7 separate regions of the Homo sapiens genome follow, and regions 1, 2, 3, 5, 6 and 7 are each linked to region 4. Evidence: promoter capture Hi-C in 16 types of primary human blood cells and fetal thymus (Javierre and others, 2016). All regions are on one chromosome and are shown on one strand. The core of a region is centred on a gene start or on the middle of the fragment in contact, and the rest is flanking DNA. Distances in the headings are between cores, read along the strand shown. Region 1 overlaps DOP1A (DOP1 leucine zipper like protein A). Region 2 overlaps DOP1A (DOP1 leucine zipper like protein A). Region 3 overlaps RWDD2A (RWD domain containing 2A). Region 4 holds the start of SYNCRIP (synaptotagmin binding cytoplasmic RNA interacting protein). Region 5 overlaps UBE3D (ubiquitin protein ligase E3D). Region 6 overlaps PGM3 (phosphoglucomutase 3). Region 7 holds the start of ME1 (malic enzyme 1).

Evidence for each region. Contacts are between HindIII fragments. The CHiCAGO score rates a contact against its expected background, and 5 or more counts as called.
Region 1: a contact is called between a fragment that was not itself captured here and the fragment with the promoter of SYNCRIP in region 4, in 1 of 17 cell types (total B cells). The highest score is 6.6, in total B cells.
Region 2: a contact is called between a fragment that was not itself captured here and the fragment with the promoter of SYNCRIP in region 4, in 1 of 17 cell types (total B cells). The highest score is 6.9, in total B cells.
Region 3: a fragment that was not itself captured here is called in contact with the fragment with the promoter of SYNCRIP in region 4 in 3 of 17 cell types (neutrophils, fetal thymus and non-activated CD4 T cells); the score reaches 6.3 in neutrophils.
Region 5: a contact is called between a fragment that was not itself captured here and the fragment with the promoter of SYNCRIP in region 4, in 4 of 17 cell types (naive CD4 T cells, total B cells, total CD8 T cells and 1 more). The highest score is 9.8, in naive CD4 T cells.
Region 6: a fragment that was not itself captured here is called in contact with the fragment with the promoter of SYNCRIP in region 4 in 2 of 17 cell types (non-activated CD4 T cells and naive B cells); the score reaches 8.5 in non-activated CD4 T cells.
Region 7: the fragment with the promoter of ME1 here is called in contact with the fragment with the promoter of SYNCRIP in region 4 in 1 of 17 cell types (M0 macrophages); the score reaches 7.6 in M0 macrophages.

What each region holds. Positions count from the first base shown.
Region 1 is chr6:83,112,755-83,115,454 of GRCh38, forward strand. It overlaps DOP1A (DOP1 leucine zipper like protein A), which reads left to right. Exons shown (of 39, transcript NM_015018.4): 7 at 569-667. Among named protein-coding and RNA genes, the nearest start is that of DOP1A, 46 kb to the left of the region's middle. The HindIII fragment of the contact is 1,119 bases long and covers 846-1,964 here.
Region 2 is chr6:83,078,561-83,081,260 of GRCh38, forward strand. The region is part of intron 1 of DOP1A (DOP1 leucine zipper like protein A); the gene reads left to right. Among named protein-coding and RNA genes, the nearest start is that of DOP1A, 12 kb to the left of the region's middle. The HindIII fragment of the contact is 3,746 bases long and covers 1-2,700 here.
Region 3 is chr6:83,197,876-83,200,575 of GRCh38, forward strand. RWDD2A (RWD domain containing 2A) reads left to right here. Exons shown (of 3, transcript NM_033411.5): 3 at 1-1,060. Among named protein-coding and RNA genes, the nearest start is that of RWDD2A, 5.9 kb to the left of the region's middle. The HindIII fragment of the contact is 3,139 bases long and covers 1-2,700 here.
Region 4 is chr6:85,641,520-85,644,219 of GRCh38, forward strand. SYNCRIP (synaptotagmin binding cytoplasmic RNA interacting protein) reads right to left here and starts at 1,367. Exons shown (of 11, transcript NM_006372.5): 1 at 1,278-1,367. RefSeq lists silencers at 417-466, 687-836, 1,427-2,446. The HindIII fragment of the contact is 3,992 bases long and covers 1-2,700 here.
Region 5 is chr6:83,056,300-83,058,999 of GRCh38, forward strand. It overlaps UBE3D (ubiquitin protein ligase E3D), which reads right to left. Exons shown (of 10, transcript NM_198920.3): 2 at 1,527-1,723. Among named protein-coding and RNA genes, the nearest start is that of UBE3D, 8.2 kb to the right of the region's middle. The HindIII fragment of the contact is 7,857 bases long and covers 1-2,700 here.
Region 6 is chr6:83,178,759-83,181,458 of GRCh38, forward strand. It overlaps PGM3 (phosphoglucomutase 3), which reads right to left. Exons shown (of 13, transcript NM_015599.3): 7 at 1,052-1,209. Among named protein-coding and RNA genes, the nearest start is that of PGM3, 13 kb to the right of the region's middle. The HindIII fragment of the contact is 1,054 bases long and covers 816-1,869 here.
Region 7 is chr6:83,429,638-83,432,337 of GRCh38, forward strand. It overlaps ME1 (malic enzyme 1), which reads right to left and starts at 1,414. Exons shown (of 14, transcript NM_002395.6): 1 at 1,240-1,414. The coding sequence starts at 1,317. RefSeq lists enhancers at 628-897, 1,518-1,687, 1,630-2,700 and a silencer at 1,118-1,307. The HindIII fragment of the contact is 4,994 bases long and covers 1-2,700 here.

The DNA.
Region 1 (2,700 bases), core at 155-2,654, 2.5 Mb before region 4:
GCCTAACAGCATTATGCTATTTAAATTGTAACTGCACATACCCCAAGACCTGGCAATTCTATTTTGAGGAATTTATCTTACAGATGTAATGTAAGTATTATATATTGCAACATTATTTACAGTAGTGTTTAGAAATGTATAAGTGCACATGATTAGAAGCTTGGTTAAATAAATTAGAGTTCATTTATGAAATAAAATACTTTGGCCATTAAGAAATGAAGCTCTTTAATGACAAGGAAAGATCTCTAAAACATGTTAAATGAAAAAGGCAGGTTTGGAATATATATATATATGGTGTTTTTCTTGTATTTACAGGAAATATTCACTAGTAAAACTGGTGCCTACAAAACAGAAGTTGGATAGTTGGAAGTTTTGCTGTATAGTCTTACGTACTTCTTAATTTTTAAACCATCATTATATATATACTATTCAAAATAATGTAAATATCTTTAATTATTGATTAGATCCTCAGAAGCATACTTTCGAGAAAATAAAGAGTTGTCACATTTTCGTGGCAAAAATGTCTCAGCATAATAGACAATAGATGTTAAAGATGCTGTTATTTCAGGTAGAAGCAGTAAGTACTTCAGTGCAGGACTCAAGTGTACTTGTACAGAGAAGCACACTGGACCTCATACTCTTCTGTTTTCCATTCCACATGAGTCAGGTAAAATATTAACGCCGATGTTATTATAAGGCATTCTTGGAAAACTGTAGATTGATAATGTGTAGTTATTTTTTAAAGGCATGTGTGTTGAATTCTTCTTGTATAAATCAGTAAGCGCATGGAAAATAAGTTCCTTCTTAAGGAGTGGAATTTGTTGTGAAAAAAAACTAAAGATAAAAGCTTCACTGATTTGATAAGAATATGGTCATTGAAGTAGATTATTTCATACTTTTGAAAAAAGTTGTAACATATAAAAAGCAAGAGGTTCTCTATTGCTAACTCTGAGTAAGCCAAGACTGAGACCCAGCCATCATCTGTACTGGTGTTATGTTATCTTGTTTTGGTGATTTTAACATGCATGCCAGACCCTTGGCAGAGTTGACTATAACTTAAGAGCCACATGTTTAGCCACTGTGATATTCTATAGTACTTTTATTACAAATAAGTGCAACTAAGTTGACAAATAATAAATGAAGTTCATTCCTAGAACTTAATTTAATCAGTGCCCTCATTTTAAAAGAAAGGATCTAAATTCCTTTGACTTATAAACCTTGATGAAGAGTGATTTACAGCACCAGTATATAGGCATTCAGAATGGTGGAACTACATACCTAACAAAAGTAATAAGATATAGAGAATATCTACCTTGGAAAAGTAAATTTATTCCTAAAAAGGACTATTATTTGAGGTTTTCATAAGAACTGTGATTAATAGATAACTGTAGTGAATTTGCATTATGACTGGCCAATTTTTTATTCATTATTTTATTAACATTTTTCTTTTACTTATTTAATTTGATATTGAAATATTAATAACTAAATAATTCTACTCTTCCTTGTCTATACTTTGACTAATTGGAACATAAACCACTCTGTTTCTATTTTGAGACTTTCACCCTTCAACCAAGGGACTTTATTCTGCCCTCTGGCTTTTCACAAAAACAACTGTTGAGTCATCTCAGCGTAATCTAAATTTACCAATGCTCTATTATAGGGATGGCCAAACAGCAGCTCATAAGTTAAGAAAGATTTATGTTTTTTTAAACACTTAGAAAACAAAGAAGAATATGCCAAAGCAATGTATGTGATCTGAAAGTCTAAATTATGTACTGTCTGGATCTTTATCCAAAAAATTTATTGACTTTCCTCTTGAACTTTTCCCATTGCTTTCTTACTTTCCAAACATTCAACATCATTAGGCCCTCAATTGACAGATGTCTCAACAAGATCTGAGGAATTAAGTCATAGTAGACTCAAGAATAACTTAATTTGTAATCTTAATATATCAGCGTTTCCTAAGCTTTTCTCAGCCTGTACTTTCTTACTCTGCCTTTTCTGTATTCCTGCCAGCCAAAATGTTCTAGATTCTTATATTCTATAATATGTATTATGGAAACAATAGCTTCGTTGAATGTGTTTTTTAAAAGTATACACCCAGTTCTAATAATCTTATAATTCTAATACTTTTCTCCCCACTATGCTACCAAATTCTAATATAGTTCTCCCTATTACTGTACCAAACTGAATAAGGATTATGACGTAGGTACCTTAGTGTTCCACTTTCCCTCTTTCTATGTCTTACATATAATAGAATACAATCCAAGTATGGATTGTATTATAATTGTGACTTAACAGTGCCTTCATTACCATATCCCAAAAGGATGATAGTTGTTAGGAACTTCAGCAGTGGGATGGACTGCTACACTTCTTTAACTTGTTTCCTGGAAAGCTCACCCAAATCTGTAGTACTTACACCTTTGAGATTATAATAGACTTTTTTTCATATTAGAAATAGATGGTGATATCAATTGTAATCAAGAAGCAACTTCTTTTTTAAATTTATTTTTTAATGGACATGAATTGTATATATTGATCCTGTACAACATGATGTTTGAAATATGTATACATTCTGGAATCTGTAAATGGAGCTAATTAACATTCATTACCTCACACAATTAATTTTTACAGTGAGAACACTTAAAATGTACTCTGAGCAGTTTTTAAGAATACAATACATTGTGGCCGGGTGTGGTG
Region 2 (2,700 bases), core at 25-2,524, 2.6 Mb before region 4:
GTGTAATTAGGAAGATGATGGTGCTGTTGACAGTAATGAAGGAAAACAAGGAAATTCAGAAAATAATAGCAGTGCTTGACAGACTTTACAGCATTTCTTGGAGTGATATTCTGACAACAGAGGTACTGTGAAATGGAAAGTGAGGAGAGGTGTAGTAACAGTTTATGGTTTATCAGTATTTTGGAGGGTGCCTATGTTTTGTAGAGATTTTTTACAATAATTAAGCAATACCTTATTTTGGTTCTTATTCTATTACGTGCTTCAGAATCTGCAAAAATATCTAGAGTTAATTCTCTCTTACAGAATTAACACCTCAGCAAAGTTATTTTGTTCTTTCATGATGAGCATTATTAATATTGTTGTTTTGTTACCATCTTAACCTTAAAACATGAGAGGGGATGGACATTGAAGGGTTGTAGGAGCTGGGGGAAGGTCTGCTGTAGGCTGTACCCCATTTTTCTCTGTAAAGTATCTTGATATCCTCAACATTAATTCTAGTTTACTTTGTCCATCAAGGGAGTTAACCCTTGTGCAAGGCTACTTTCTGTCACCATTCTTTCACAGATTTTGGAAACTGATGTGCACAGATACATGCATGGTCTGTGTCCAGGGTGAACCCTTTTTTAAAAAAGCATCTTTAAATAAAAGTACTCAGCTAAAGTGTTGGTGACTTCCTGTGTAATATTTTGATCTTATCTTTTAAATACATAGGCATGATTGAATTTGCATCTCAGTGAATTTTTTTGCATGTGTGCTTTTTCTTATGATTTTACTTTTGGAACAGTCTTAATAAAATGGGCAAAGAAAAACGTTAAAATTCCATGGGATTTTTTTTAATGGGAAAAATTTGTTTCTACTGGCTGTGATTAAAATTTGTTTACAGATATTCAGTTAAATTGGAACACACTAGGAAGTATAGAAAAATGTTTGGCTAGTATGTATAGTACGGCATTGTTATGTTAACTTATGTAAAAACCAGTCTTTATTTGAAAATCCAACTCTGTAGTAAGTTAATAGCATACTATTTATTTTTTAAATGCTGAAAACGTTAAATTACTAATTTTTAAATATATTGGTTAGATTTTATTTTGCAAATAATGATTTGATTAACTTAATATGGGTTTAATTATGCTGTAAAAATTATTTTTGCTTATTTCACTTTATTTCTAGTAGTATGTTTTAGCATATGTAAAAGTTTAAGCAAAATCATTGTCATTAAATGAAGAATGATAGCTACAAATAAAGATACTTTGAGAAAGGTACTTTCTGATGAAAATTTATGTTTCAAATAAGCTGGAAAGAAATACATGGTGGGATAGTTAACAGTTAGTTATTCCTCATCTTGCGTTTCACCTCTCTAATCATTCTGAATAGCAATGCATTCATTTTTATCATTATTCTCATGTCTTACCTTCTGCTGTATATAAAAAATAAGCCATGTTTTCTTTCTTCTTCCAAACTATTAATAAAAGCAAAACAGAATGTGGTCAATCTAGATAATTTAGATGTTCTTTAAGTGTACTATTCTGATATTTACTCTTAGGCTGATTTTTTTTCCCCTGCCATCTAAAATGTTTGTTTCATTTCCCCCTACCCAATCAATGTATACACAGTGAAATCAAACATTTTAATGTTAGGAAAAACAAAACATTAGAAAGATATGTTTGAAAAAAGCAGATATATCCTAAAAGCAAAATTTAGTTGTTTGGGATTCTGTTTTACATTATCCACACAACTACTTCTTTCTATAGATACTGTTAATACAATGATATATGACTAAACCAGAATATTAAACTATCAGTGATGTTCACAGGTTTCATCAAAATAAGGAAAACTTCCTTGATATATTTGTTTTCTGAACTATCATTTTGTCCCCTCATAACTAATAACCCTCAGGAATTATATCTCCCTTTGCCAAGAGAAAAAACCTGTCTTTAGTAGGTCCTATAAAGCATCCCTTAGGTGCTTAATAATAGAATTTGTGCACTAAAGCATACTGCTAATCCAGCAAGAATCCTGTCATCAGCCCTGCACATCCTAAATTTGGGGACAGCCACATCTGTAATACTGTTTTTGGATGTGTAACCCAACCTGCAGTACCTCTGTAGTATTTCATCCCACTTCAGAGCATTTTTACCTCTTAGGAATTATTTTCTAGGGAGGAATAGATTGTTGTCTTTTATGTTCTGTATATAGTTCCCCTTGTATATAGGTTCACCACGGCCATTTATTGAATTAAAATCCCTGTTTTATAATGTCTGTGTCACCCAAAACAATCTACAGATTCAATACAATTCCTATCAAAAGACCAATGACATTCTTCACAGAAATAGAAAAAAGAAAATCCTAAAATTTTGTGGAACCACAAAAGACCCCAAATAACCAAAGCCATCTTGAGCAAAAAAACAAAGCTGGAGGTGTTCTACTACCTGACTTCATAATATACTACAAAGCTATTGTAACCAAAATAACATGGAACTGGCATAAGAACAGACAGACTGACTAATGGAACAGAATAGAGAGCCCAGAAATAATTCCACACATTTACAAACAACTGTTGGTTTGTTCGTTTGTTTTTTGAGACAGAGTCTCACTCTGTTGCCCGGGCTGGGGTGCAGTGGTGTGATCTCACCTCACTGTGGCCTCTGCCTCCAGGTTCAAGCGATCCTCCTGAGTAGCTGGGATTACAGGCATGCACCA
Region 3 (2,700 bases), core at 82-2,581, 2.4 Mb before region 4:
CCTCTCAGGGCACAACTCAGATCTTCAACCCATGGCTCGCTGTAGGCCTGCCCCGCCAGGTCCTCCAGCTTGCCATTCATGTTTCCATCCTAGCCTTGGTTGTGCTGGAACTCAGGCTGGAGCCTGACACTTTGCCTATATGCAAAGGGAAGAAATAGGACTTACATTGCCAAGGAATCACTTCTTAATGTTTGCCAGCACTAAAAACAACAAAGTATAGGAATCTTTTTCCCCCACAGTCTCCACAAAGCTATCAATAAGTATAATTCGCATTTACAAGTTTTAGGCCTTCAACAGATGTAACTCCATCCAAATGAATCAATATGTGCCATCAACCTACCTTATAGAGGTGTTTTTCCTGATTACATGAGCAAAAGTAGCTACAGAAAGATGGGTGTAAAGAAAAGGCAATAAATTCTAGGTTATGAACTCTACTGCTTCTGGAGCTATTTCTGAGATTTTTCAGAACCTACTTTTTTATAAATAAGTCTAATTTGAGCATTCTGCAATACTTTTTTTCCTATCAGGAAAACTAATGCAGATAGTATTATGGGGACGTGTAGGTTTTATAGAAAAAAAAAGTACATGTATAATTCAAAACTCAACTTTGTATGTATAGGAGTCTGCTGGTTGTTTGCACAGCCTGATATGAGCACATAATAAAAGTCCGTCATTCCCCAACCCCCTCCCCCTACACACACAGCTTATTTTGGGAAACTGCCCCTTCCCTGTGTGATTTGGGAAGAGAAAGTGATAGGAATCAAGTTGTCCTCTGGCAGCCTCCTGGAGAGATGGCTGTGAGCTCTTGCTGCTTAAACCTCTAGTGCCACCCTCATTTCTGACCTACTGAATGCTCAGCTGTTTGGCATTTCCTTTGAATGACCCAGCATCTTCCCTTTTGTTGTCGGAAATCAGAATCAGTCTCTATTGCTTGTAACTTAAGAATCTGGATATTCTGTTTATTATATTCTTAAATGGTTATTTGGAAAATGTGCTCATTTATAAAAGTTACAGTGTCTTTTTAAAGTTTGCTGAAGTAAATGAAGCATATCGTCAAGTATGTTCTTTGCTTTTCATTCCTTACTGGTCTATTATGTGTTAGGCTAAGAGCTGAGGACACCTGCATAGTGAATTGAGTAGGCCAGATGAGTTGGCAGACCACAACACAGGGACCTCTAAAACATTCCTTATTAAATCAAACATACATTGCCTGTGAACTTGAGCGTTCACATATAACTCCTTACATGCCATCCATCCCCTCTCAGAACCTGAGAAGGTTCTGATGGTGTCTGTCTGCAGCCTTCATGGAACCCTTTTGAACAGGTTTTTTTCACTTGCTTTTATCTCAAGTAGCCCAGTAGTAAGTCAAAAGAATAGTTATTGTCTGAAGAGGGCACAGTGTTGCTCACACTTCCTGGTTTTATACATAATCCTGATTTGCCACAGAAACTCTGAGCCCATTGGCTTTCCCTCATAAGGTCCACATGGTGGAACTAATTTCACCATAGCCTGGACCAGCTAGAGAGACCTCTCTTTCTGATCCCAGTCAAAACTAGATGCATTTGGGTCAACCCCCGAATGAATTTGAGCAGGGTACACAGAATTTAAGTAAGCCCACTGTATTAGCTCATTCTTATGCTGCTAATAAAGACATACCCGAGACTGGGTAGTTTATAAAGGAAAGAGGTTTAATGGACTCACAGTTCCACATGGCTAGGGAGGCCTCACAATCACAGCAGAAGACGAAGGAAGAGCATAGGGATATGTTACATAGGGGCAGGCAAGAGATCTTGTGTAGGGGAACTCCCCTTTATGAAGCCACCAGATCTCGTGACACTTATTCACTACCACGAGAAGTATGGGGTAAACCACCCCCATGATTCAATTATCTCCACCTGGTCCTGTCCTTGACACATGGGGATTATTACTATTCAAGGTGAGATCTGGATAGGGGCACAGCCAAACCATATCACCCACCAAACCCTGGGAGTTCTCCTTAGTTATAGAAGGAACAAAGTACACAATTTGTTCCTCACAATGAAGGGGAAATCCCAGCATGTACCAGACACTGGACTTCTACAAAACTTGGCTGCAGGCTCTGTGCTTTCATGGGATTTATCGTTCACCCTCTGGGATGACACATCTTACTAGGCATCCAGGAAACATGACTCCATTCTCCAAGTCCAATCAGAATATCACCTGGAGGCATACAGCATGCTGCCCTGTATAGTGGTAAGCTGATCAAAGGTCTGATATCGAGACTGATATTCTGACATAGAAAGTTAATGTAATGTTGGAAAAAGACAATCTACATTGCTGCTTACTGAGATAAAGAAAATGCTTCAAGTGGTCTTTACTTACTGGAATAAAGGAAAAACAAAAAAGCATTGACCAAATCAGTAGCCAGCTACTTTCTGATTTGCTCCAAGAAAAAAGAACTTATATGACAGCAGCTGCAGTTGGAATCACCATCTGCTTAAGTTTCGGAATATGTGCAGCCATTCTATTTTTTTGAGACGGAGTCTTGCTCTCTCGCTCTGTCACTCAGGGTGGAGTGCAGTGGCCCAATTTCAGCTCAAAGCAAACTCTGCCTCCCGGATTCAAGTGATTCTCATGCCTCAGCCTCCCAAGTAGATGGGATTACAGGTGTATGCCACCACGCCTGGCTAATTTTTGTATTTTTAGTAGAGATGGTTTTTC
Region 4 (2,700 bases), core at 117-2,616:
CATCTTTACTTTCTCTACCATTTACTACACCAGCTAGCCTATACCTCCCTTTAAAAAAGCCTTACAGTCACTATCGCCTGACAAGCCAGATTTGGAGCACAGGGCACAGAAGGACCGATTCACCATATTCTTCCTCAGCACCACCCCTGACTCACCTGCTAACACTCCCTAGGAAAAACCATATTACAAATAGAGCCCAATCAGCACGGGTACGAGCCAGCGTGCCACATGCAGCTGTGCCCGTTCGGAAAATGAGGTGTGTGTGGAGAAAGCAAAACTGGGCTCCTCTCTCTCAAAGATAAACCCCCAAAGTGCGCGCTTTTCCCGCCTGCCGCTTATAGATCGGTAACAACAGCCAGCGAAGAACAAAGCGCTCATACAAGCCACCTTCCCACCACCCAATTTCTCCACCCTTTAACCCCGCACCCCAAAGCCCGCCCCTGACTCCGCACCCAGAGCGGCAGTCTCACCACTGCGGCCGCCAGGAGCCCATTAGAAACACGTGCTCTGCGCCTTCCAATGTCCTACAACTTCCTTCAACGGCAACCCAACGAATCCCAAACCAAGACGACCATCACTGGTTCCCAACATCAACCCGAAGCCGCGGTCGGAGCCCCCAGAAAGCTGCAGCAGCACAATCTCTCCCCTGAACACCGAGGCACCGGCGGCGCCAGGCCACAGGCTCTCCCCGCCCCCCAGCGCCGCCGTCTCCGCCGTGACACATGGCTCTCCGCCCCTGGCGCTCCCCGGGCGCCGACGACCCCCGGCCGCCCGCCCGGCCGAGACGTGACCCGTGGCGCGCTGTGCAGGTCCCCACCCCTTACCCTTCCGTGCAGTGACTGCGACGCCTGCCCGGCAACCCAGCAGCGTGAGGGCGTTCAGCGGACGGCTCAACGCCCGCGGGACCGTGAGCACCGCCCAAGCTCGCCGCACGGCTGCAGGACAAGACCCACTCCTCTCCGCCCACTCCCGCGCCGCGGCGACCGCCACGACAGCACCAACTCTGAAGCCGCTCGCGGTCCGTGCGGGCCACGGGACCGTGGAGGCGCCTCCTCCCAAAGCGCCGCAGACAAAGCCCGAACCGCAGCAGCACATGGAAAGGAGGAAGTGGCGGCGCGGGCCGCGGCCTACTCCCAGGCAGCCCCAGTCAACGTGCTCTTCTCCCCATTGGAATCCATTTTCCAGAAAAGCCGGTTTCTACCCGCGCCACCCTCCCCCAGCTCACTCCACAATGTCATGGAGCTCCCCTCCCACACCCAGGTTCTGGCAGTCGTTACCTCCCCGTTGGGCTGAGGCGGAGAAATCCTGTCCGATGGTATCGGGTTGCGGGAAACGCGTGCTCGCTGCTCCCTGTGTCCGGCGCGAGTGGAGCTGTTGTAAAATGGCGGCCGAAGCTCACGCCGCTGGCAGCAAACCCGATCCAGTTCCACTCGCCTCCGAGCGCGCTCCCGGTGCGCGCGCGCGCCCCCGCGTGACCCCCCCTTCCCTTCCCTTCCCTTCCCTCCCCTCCCTCGCGCGTCCGCTTCACTCACTCCCTCAGCCCCTGCCCTCCTCCAGCTCCTCCTTCTCCCCCTACCACCACCACCACCACTAGCCTCTGTCCGCCTTCTCTCGGCCTTTCTTATTCCCGCCCCCCGCTCCTTTACCCCACTGCTCCCACTCCCCTCTGCGGTCGCTCAGGCACGAGTGGCCGCCTTTCCCCTTCTGGCTCGCACGCTCCCTCACTCCCTCCCTCGCTCGCTCGCACTCTCGGCCCGGTCCCCCAGTCCCTGCCGAGTCGGCTCCTCTCTTTCTCTCTCCCGCGCTGACGTGACAACGTAGCCTACGCCTCGGGACGCGCGCCCGCGGGCTCCGCCCCCACGCCGCGCCGCCTTCCCCGCTCCTCACCCCTTGGGTTGGGGGTGGGGGAGGCACAAGACCCCGCCCTTCCGCTCCGACGGTGGCGGCCGAGGGGCCGAGACTGAATGAAAGGCCCGCCCCTTCCCCTCCCGACACTCCCCCTCCCTCTCCCCTCCAGGCGGGGCGGGCCGGCTCAGCGTGTCCCACTCGTTTTCCTTTGTCAGGAGACTGGCATCTCCCCACCCCGCCCCACCCCACCCCCTCCCCGCGACACCATGCGCACGCCACCCCCACCGAGCTCCCGCCCGCCCCATCCCTGCCCGGTCCGGGGCTGGCGGGGCAGAGTGCTGTGGGCGCTGAGTGCGACTGCCGCTTCCCGGAGGGCACCCACCGGTCTGTGCGCGCCCGGCCCCCGCCCCCGGCTCCGCGGCCGCGTAGCCGTTCCAGGCGGTGTCCACGCCGCTGCCACCGCCCCGCGCTCTCCTCCTCGGGAAGCTGCAGGCGCACGTGTCCCCCGGGGCGGGGCGAGGCAGACAATGGGGCCAAGGGGGAGGGGAGCGGCGCGGAGACCCGCGGACCTTTGGTCCGCCGGACTGGCGGTACTCGAGTGCGAGAGTCGCCCTTGGAGACTCGATCTCCCCAACTGGACAGTGGGCCCTCCTCGCAGCCGCGCGGCTCCGCTTTCACGGGAACCTTCGGCGAAGGGAGGGGCGCCCCAGGCTTGGACGCGGAAACCCCGGCTGCTTTTGAAGGGGGAACGGGGCTGGCTCCAGTGGAGCGAGGAGCGGCTCCTGCCTTGGGATGACACGAAGGCCAGATTTGGAAGCGAAACCGCCCGGTGGTGAAGGGTTGTGCAATACT
Region 5 (2,700 bases), core at 160-2,659, 2.6 Mb before region 4:
CATGCTTGCCTTTCCCAAATCTCAGAACCCAACACAAAATTCCTGCTGTGGTTACTCTTGTGAAAGAGGTAACTGTTGTGAAGGAGAAGGTGATGACAACACAACATCCAGCCTCCCATGGCCTCTTCCCTGAAACAACACTTTCTCTGCCCATTATTAGGTGCAATCAGGGAGTCTACTTCCCAGCTCGGTGACCCTAACCTTCTTGCTATGGTTATTCCAACAGTCATTCCTAGTATTTATCCTACAACATTTAAGTGCCATGACATCTCTTTTCCCTACCCTTTGTTCCTAAAACTAACCCTGCCCAACTCAAACTAGTTATTCACTAACCCAGGACTTGAGCAAAAATTGCTCTCCAGTAAAAAAGAAATGAAACCCTCTCTATCTTCTCTTTCCTCACAAAAGCCAAGAGCACAGACTCAGGGGAATACTCAACATCTCCTAAATGGCTCTTCCAAACACTCCTCCTGACCCCATCTCCAGGATCCACACAGCGCAGATGAAAGGTTTATTACAGATGAGGCAGCAGCGAAGTGTCAGTGTGCAGCTGAAAGAATTACAATCTTTCTCTGATAATAAACATCACATAAGTCTTTTACAGCCTATTTCCCCCTTTGACATAATTTTAATCCCCCAAAGCATATATTACGTACATTGTAATAGATGTAATGAACCAATAATTTTATACAATAAATAACCCTGAGGTCTTAGAAAAAGCAAATTTTCCACTGCCTTACCGAATCATTATACCAGTTACAAAATGTTGTAAATATAACAGGCATAGTAAAAGTTAAAATCAAATTAAGTATCAAACTCAACTGTAGGACCTTTTGTGTACTGTTTTCTCTATTTGGAACAGTCCCCACATGGATAGGATTTCCTTATTCAGGACTCAGGTCAAACATTACCTCCTCAGAGTGGCCTTCACTGATCATCCTTCAGCCAACCCTAGTCACTCCCTATCCCATTATTCTGTTTTATATTATCATAACACTTTTCTTAATATTTAAATTGTTTGCTCATTATCTGCTCCCACCAATTAGAATGTAAGCTCCATGAGAGCAGACACCTCCCCTACCTTGTTCACTCTGTATCCCCAGAACCTAGATTGATGCCTAGCACATAGCACAAACCAAAATATTTGTTGAATGAATAAATTTCCATGTAATGCTTTAAAATCAATCAGGTCTTATACAACTGCCATCTGATTTAATCTTCCCATCTGTGAGCCAGAAAATTTTACAATTAAAGAAACAAGGCAGTGGGTAAATGGGAAATCTCTATACTTTCTGCTCAATTTTGCTGTGGGTGGAAAAGAAAGAAGGAAGGGAGGGAGGGAAGAAGCCTCAGAAAGGTTAAGTAACATGTTCAATTGCATACAGCCAATAACTGGCAGAGCTGACAAAGACCCTAGAGCTTCTCAACCCCTTCACCTGGGAAAAGTTCAACTTATCAAAGGAAAAATCACCTTTGGTTTATAACAAAAAGGTAAATACAGCAGCAGAAGTGCTAATATTACTCACTTGTGCCTAATTTTGCTTGCGTCTGCAGTCGCAGGTGCAGTCCATCTCCAACAACAAACTGTAGCCCACGGCAAGAGGAAGGTACAAGCCTGACCTCTGCTGGAAGCTGGATTTCTGTGCAGCCTTCAGGGGTTTTCATCTGGAGTGAAGATGGCATTATGGAAATATTCATGGGCATACCTCCTTCTTTCGGTTCTCTGGTAATTAAAAACAAAACCCAAACAAATTATTTCTCACAATGAAAACCACATGATGAAAGAAACAAAAATGGCCAAGGATCTCTTTCTTCCTCTTCAATAGGAGCTCTAAAGTCACTGCCCCAGAAAAACAGCAGCAAGCAGATCATAAAGGAAAGCAACCTACACTAGATTTAGATCTGATCAGAGTGCCCTTCACCATCACCATAATATGCAAGTCCTGGGACAGATTTTTGGTTCTTCCTTCTGAGAAGAGCACTAAAATAATGTTTTATAGTAAATCAGAGCAAAGTACTGTTATTTCATATACAAGATTTTAATAAAGAGACCAAGATTCAGTGAAACAATGATACAAGACAAAAACCTGTCAATTTTAAGAATAAAAAGAATTAATGAAGAAAACGATACAGTGATGTATGAATATCAGGTGTGAAAGGACTTACTAATCCAATTCAGAGCAAACACAAATTACTCAGTATAGGCAATAAAGAGTAAAACACAGTCCCTGTCAAAAGCCCCCAGGCATCAAAAGTATAGAGGGGATAAAGGCATCTATGGAAATGACCCTCCTCTGAAACTGCAATACGCTTAGCAATGCAACAGAGGTACAAAGTACCATGGCTCCCTCTTAAGTGCAGACAGCAGGTCATCCACATGGTGTCAACTAAGTGCAGACAGCAAGCCATTTGCTTGAGTGTCATCTGAGTACAGAGGGTAGACCATGTGCTCAGGTGTGGATCTTGGTTAGGCCTTAGAAATCTGCCTTAGAAAATCTTATAGCTACTTTCTGGCTAGTTCCTTTTCAAAGCATATGGATCTGCACTTAGTTAGCAATACAGAATATTAAGCATCTGAGTTTTTTGCAGGGATGACAGTTTCAAACCTGAGTCAAAAGTTCAATTTCAAGAAATGGTGTTTAAGAAATAATGATCCTCTAAAACAAGAGTCAGCAACTTTATTTCTGTGAAAGACCAGAT
Region 6 (2,700 bases), core at 93-2,592, 2.5 Mb before region 4:
AGACAAAAACAATGATACTTAACTTGCCATCAAAAGTATGGTCTACAAAAACAAATATAATGAGAGTTCTAAAGGCTACCAAAATTATCAGCCAGTTCAGTTGTGCCTTAGTTTATGCCAAAAATGTCTGACTGAAAATTTACATGTATGCCAGGAAAAAAGCCTAAAATACATTTGAACACTATTTAAAACAATTCTATGAGAATTCCTCTTTTAAGAAGCCTGTATCTCCTGATCTTCACCTCTTTAATTTTTTAAATAAAAGTATCTGGCCAGGCACGGTGGCTCACGCCTGTAATCCCAGCACTCTGGGAGGCCAAGGTGGGTGGATCACCTGAGGTCAAAAGTTCGAGACCAGCCTGGCCAACATGGTGAAACCCCATCTCTACTAAAAGTACAAAAATTAGCCAGGTGTGGTGGCATGCATCTGTAATCCCAGCTACTTGGGAGGCTGAGGCAGAAGAATTGCTTGAGCCCAGGGAGGCAGAGGTTGCAATGAGCCGAGATCACGCCCCTGCACTCCAGCCTGGGCAACAGAGCAACACTGTCTCAAAAAAAAAAAAAAAAAAAATCTATTAAATTCTTAAAGTATGCTGTTTCCAGATTATAATAATTTCCAATTACATTGTGTACTTAAAGCTAGCCTGAGATTTATTTCTAAAATAGCAAAATGAAACAAATCTCACATTACTAAGCTTATCATAATCAGTTAATATATCAGATGATGAGATTTCCTATTAGAATTTAGGGCTTTTATGGAGTGACCACAGAACTGTCATCAAAGTTTCAATTATGATGGAAGCAAAACTTCCTAAAGCTTCAAATCACAAAACTCAGCCAGTATAAGGAGGAAAAGAGTACCTTCAGGTTCCAAAGCCAATGCCTCAAATGTTCAAATGACTGGGTATTACCACTGCTCTTTTTTTAATTTTCTGCCCACTAATGTAAAGAATTTGTCATAAATTGTGCCCTTCTGACAAATGATTGTAAAATATGGAACTATTTCACTACTAAGTCTTGTTTTAGAGGGTAGCCAATCCCCCCACCATACCTCCACCAGGAGCTCTTTAAGGAAACTGCTAATTAACGTTGCTATCTTGTCTCCATCTATGAGATGAAAGTGGCCATCTGCATCATGGTAGTAATAAACAATTCTGTCTGCATCTCCATCAAAAGAACAGCATCTTTCATTGGACTTAATTTCCATTCCTAGCACACAGGATAATTTAACATGCATTTCAGTCTAAGAATTTATTATAAAGAGTTTTAGAATTTTCTCTTAAAATTATCCACCTAAAAATCAATGTCTTAATCTTAAATAGTGTATAATCTTTAAATAGTACATAGTTTATTAGTGGTTTTTACAGGTCAAATTCTTTCACTGCAAAGTGAAAAAAGGAGCATTCAAAATCTATGCTGATATTTGCTATAATACTACCATAAAATTCCACTTTATAAGCAGGTTGGTTTGGCTAGACAGGTGTCCCATAAAGGTTTTTTGAAAGCTACATGTATTTCTGAATGTAATTTACCTAGGACCGTGATCTCCTTTACATAGAAAAAATAATCAGCACTAGATGATGTATGTGCTTTAATTCTAACAGAAATGATTTTTATTTGTTCATACCACCAATAAAAAGAAACACTGATAATTAAGAGCAAAGAATTATAACTTTGAGAGATAACTGGCCTGTGAAATTTACATAAAGTTGCTGAAATCTCAGCAATTGTCACATCAAATTTATTAGAAAATTTGGCTATTCCTTAGCCATGACAGCAGCAGAGTGACAAATTCAACATGAGACAACTAAGAAGTAAAAGGCTTTTGTCAGGAATGGGATCATAAGATTGATGAAAGGACATGATGCAAGCTTCAGGAAAGCAAGGACTATGGTTTTGTTCATACTGTAGTCCCAAAGCCTAGAGCATAGAGAGTAAGAGCTCAGTATTTAAGAAATGGATAAATAAGTGGCAGAACTGAACTGTCAAGTAAATGTCAAAACAAGCAATTCAATGAAAAGGAGCTCAAATTGGTTGACTACACTGACATTTTAAATGCTTACTAAGTAAAGCATAATAACATGAATGAATGAGGCAACTGGATGAAGTCTGTAGAGTTCCAGAATGCATGTCCTATTTTAGGGGAGCAGCATCTATCTGACTGTAGTGGACTAATGCCATGTGTGAACATTTTCTGATTTTGGTAAAGAGATGCTAGAGATTCCAATATATAAGAGAAGTCACGGAATTTTTAAACAGTGGCACACAGACAAACACACAAATGCAGCCAGCCAAACAAAACATATCTGCAAGTCAGGTTTGGCCTAAGCAAATAATTTAGGGTCTATAATGCAGATAAATCCAGAACACCTCTTACTACAACTAAAATCTGAAGAAAAGTCTTCCTCCTATTCTGCACTGAGTGGAAAACACTGATTGCTAACAACTGTATAAGCAGAGTTACATTTGCTTTCCATAGTGTATTTAATTCAGATAAGGTATCTAATAATACTTACTATGCTCCCCTGTAGATCTGTGATTCTCAAAAAGGGATCCCCAGACAAGCACTGGGAACAAAGCCTGCAAACTTGATAGAAATGCAAATTTCTATCATATGCAAATCCTATGCCAGACCTCCAGAAACTCAGAAGTGGAGCCCAGGAATCTGTGTGCTAACAAGCCCTCAAAGTGATTCTGACA
Region 7 (2,700 bases), core at 164-2,663, 2.2 Mb before region 4:
CTACATGACGGCAGATAGCACACAGTCATAGATTTGTAAAAGGTGCCTGTCACCACACACACAAAAAAAATCACTCACACTGACTATAACTTGTTAAATAAATCATGTCTTTAAGTCATTAATATGATCAACAAATCATCAGGAACACGACAAGGAAAAAGCTGAGCTTCTGTTCTTAATGTGAAATGCAGTCCACCAAAGAGACAACCAAAATAACTAAACAAACCTCTGTGCTGACTGATGGCATTTTCAGACTCCTGAATAAATAGGAAATGTCCAAAGCGCACGCACACACACACACAAAAGGAACAATCCCGAGACAAACCTGGCTGTAAAATAAGTGTGGAAGCAAAATGATAAATTCGGAGGTATTTTTTATTTGAGAGACATCCCGAGTGCTTATATTGCATCACCAGTGAAGGAAAATGAAATGTTACCAGGATCCGAAAAGGAGTCTCTGAACAGGGTGTACACTGAATTCCCCTTTAATAAAAAGAGAGCAGCTCTAAACAAAATTTTTTTTTAACTTCCAGAAAGCCAAATTAAAAACAAAACAAAACAAAACAAAACAAAAGAAAGAAAGAAAAGAAATGGCTTTACCCACAGTCCCATGTCTGGGACAGAGTTCTTCTACCAAGCCATGCAAAGTGTCCAAGACAGAGGCCACCCACCACGCATTCCCAGACTCTTAACCGTGTCACTCCAGAAACCGAGAGGACTTGGATTTCCAGATTGCTAACGTGATCTGAAGGCACTCAGTACACGTTTCTGTCTGGGCAGGACCAGTTGAGCCACTTCTCGCCTTATCAACTTCCAATAATTGCCACACTGTGTGTGCAACCAGTAAGTGAGTGGCACATGGAGTCTGACCTGGCACTCCATTCACACACTTTGTCTGATACTACTTTCATTGTCTGGGCTCTTGTTTTTGGAGAAGAGCTGCCGAAAAGTATCACCTTTTCCTCTATCACTAACCTTTACCTTTACCTCTATCCCTAACATGGGATGCCGAGGTGCAGAGGCACCAGCACTGCCCTGCCATCACTCTAGTGGATACGGACCCGATTAGGCGTCCTTCTTCCTTCTGCCCACACCAAGGCCCCCCAGGCCGCGGCCGCTCACCGGGAACCTTCCCAGGGGAGCGGCGGAGGGGCGAGGCCATGGTGCGGGGACCTGCAAGAGGGCCCTGACCCTGATAGAGAGGGGCCGATGGGCGGCCAGGTGGGCCTGCGGGTTTACCTTGTTGAGGTGAGGGTTCCGTGTCAGCAGGTAGCCGCGCTGATGGGTGTGGCGGCGACGGGGGGCTTCGGGCTCCATGGCTGGCGCCGGGTTCGGCGGCGGGGTCAGGCCGGGGCGGGCCGCACGCGCGGTGCAGGCGGCGGATGCTGCTGGGGTGACGGTGCTGACTGCAGCTGTGGCGGCGGCGGCCGCACTGGGAAAGGCCCAGCGGCTGGGGGCGGGCGTGGGTGGCGAGAGGGGGTGGACGCGTCGGGAGGGGCCCGAGCGAAGCCGGTGTCCCCAGCAGGGCAGCCTGCGAGAAGCGCTGAGTCATGGCAGGAGATCATCCGAGCCGGCGTGTGAGGAGGAGGAGGAAGAGCGAGTCCTGGCAGCGCTGCTGGTGGCGGAGCGGGGGTGGCGGCCGGAGCCCTTGGCTCCATAGGGCCTCTGCCCACCATGGGCTTATGATCACCGCTGTGGTCGCCTCTCTCCATGTGGGCATGCCTAAACGCAGTGCACTGGGTGGCTCTGCTGACCCCAGAGACCCAGGGCGGGGGCAGGGAGCGGGGAGCGTCAGGCCAGGATCCCCCTGCCCGGGAAGGCTGGAGAAAGTGCGAGAAGATGCCAGAAGGTGCGAACCTGAGCGGTTCAGGCAGAGCCGGCGGTCGCTCAGACACCTAGGGGGATTACAGGACGGAAGGACTCGTGAGGGGTCCCCAGAACTGTTGACAGAACACCTCGACAGGCTGAGGAGAATCAGACTCGTCTCTCCTGTCTTGTTAGCGTCTTGGAAGCCCTCTTTCTACAGATCCACAACCTTCGCCGTGCCATCCAGGATGCCGGCCATGCCCGGGGCCCTGAGGCCGGAGGGAACCAACCTTGACCCAGAATGCCGAGGCCCAAGGGAACTGGGAGGAAGCCCAGAGAGGAGAGCTCAGGCGCCACACCTGTCAGTTTCTACAGATTTTCCACCGGAATTGTATTTGAATGTCAATAAGATAAGAGTCAAGGTGTTAGGGTGCAAAGGCCCAATGAACAGTCCTGTTTATCTTGTATATTATTTCTCTGGGAGTTCTAGAAACCTGATGTTCAAGAACCACTGCTCTCTCTGAATAATGATGAGTAAGCAGTCTTTCAGGCCTTCCTCCCAACCTCAGGTGATCCGCCCGCCTCCGCCTTCCAAAGTGCTGGGATTATAGGTGTGAGCCACCGCGCCGGGCCATTTTTTTATTGTTTTATTGATATTTATGCTTGGAGGTTCATGGACTGGAGGAATAGTCAGATCATAGCCAAAAGGAGTGCCTGTCTGATAAAAATAAATTAATAGCAACAGACACTAAAGCCTTCTGTGCCCCAGTTTCCTTTTCAGTTAAATAGGATTGCTAGTTTCTGTCCCATTTGTCTCTGCATACTGATATTACAAAGGATAGTGTTTGAGATTATTTGCTGATTTTATATCTCCATATACTAGACACACATCCA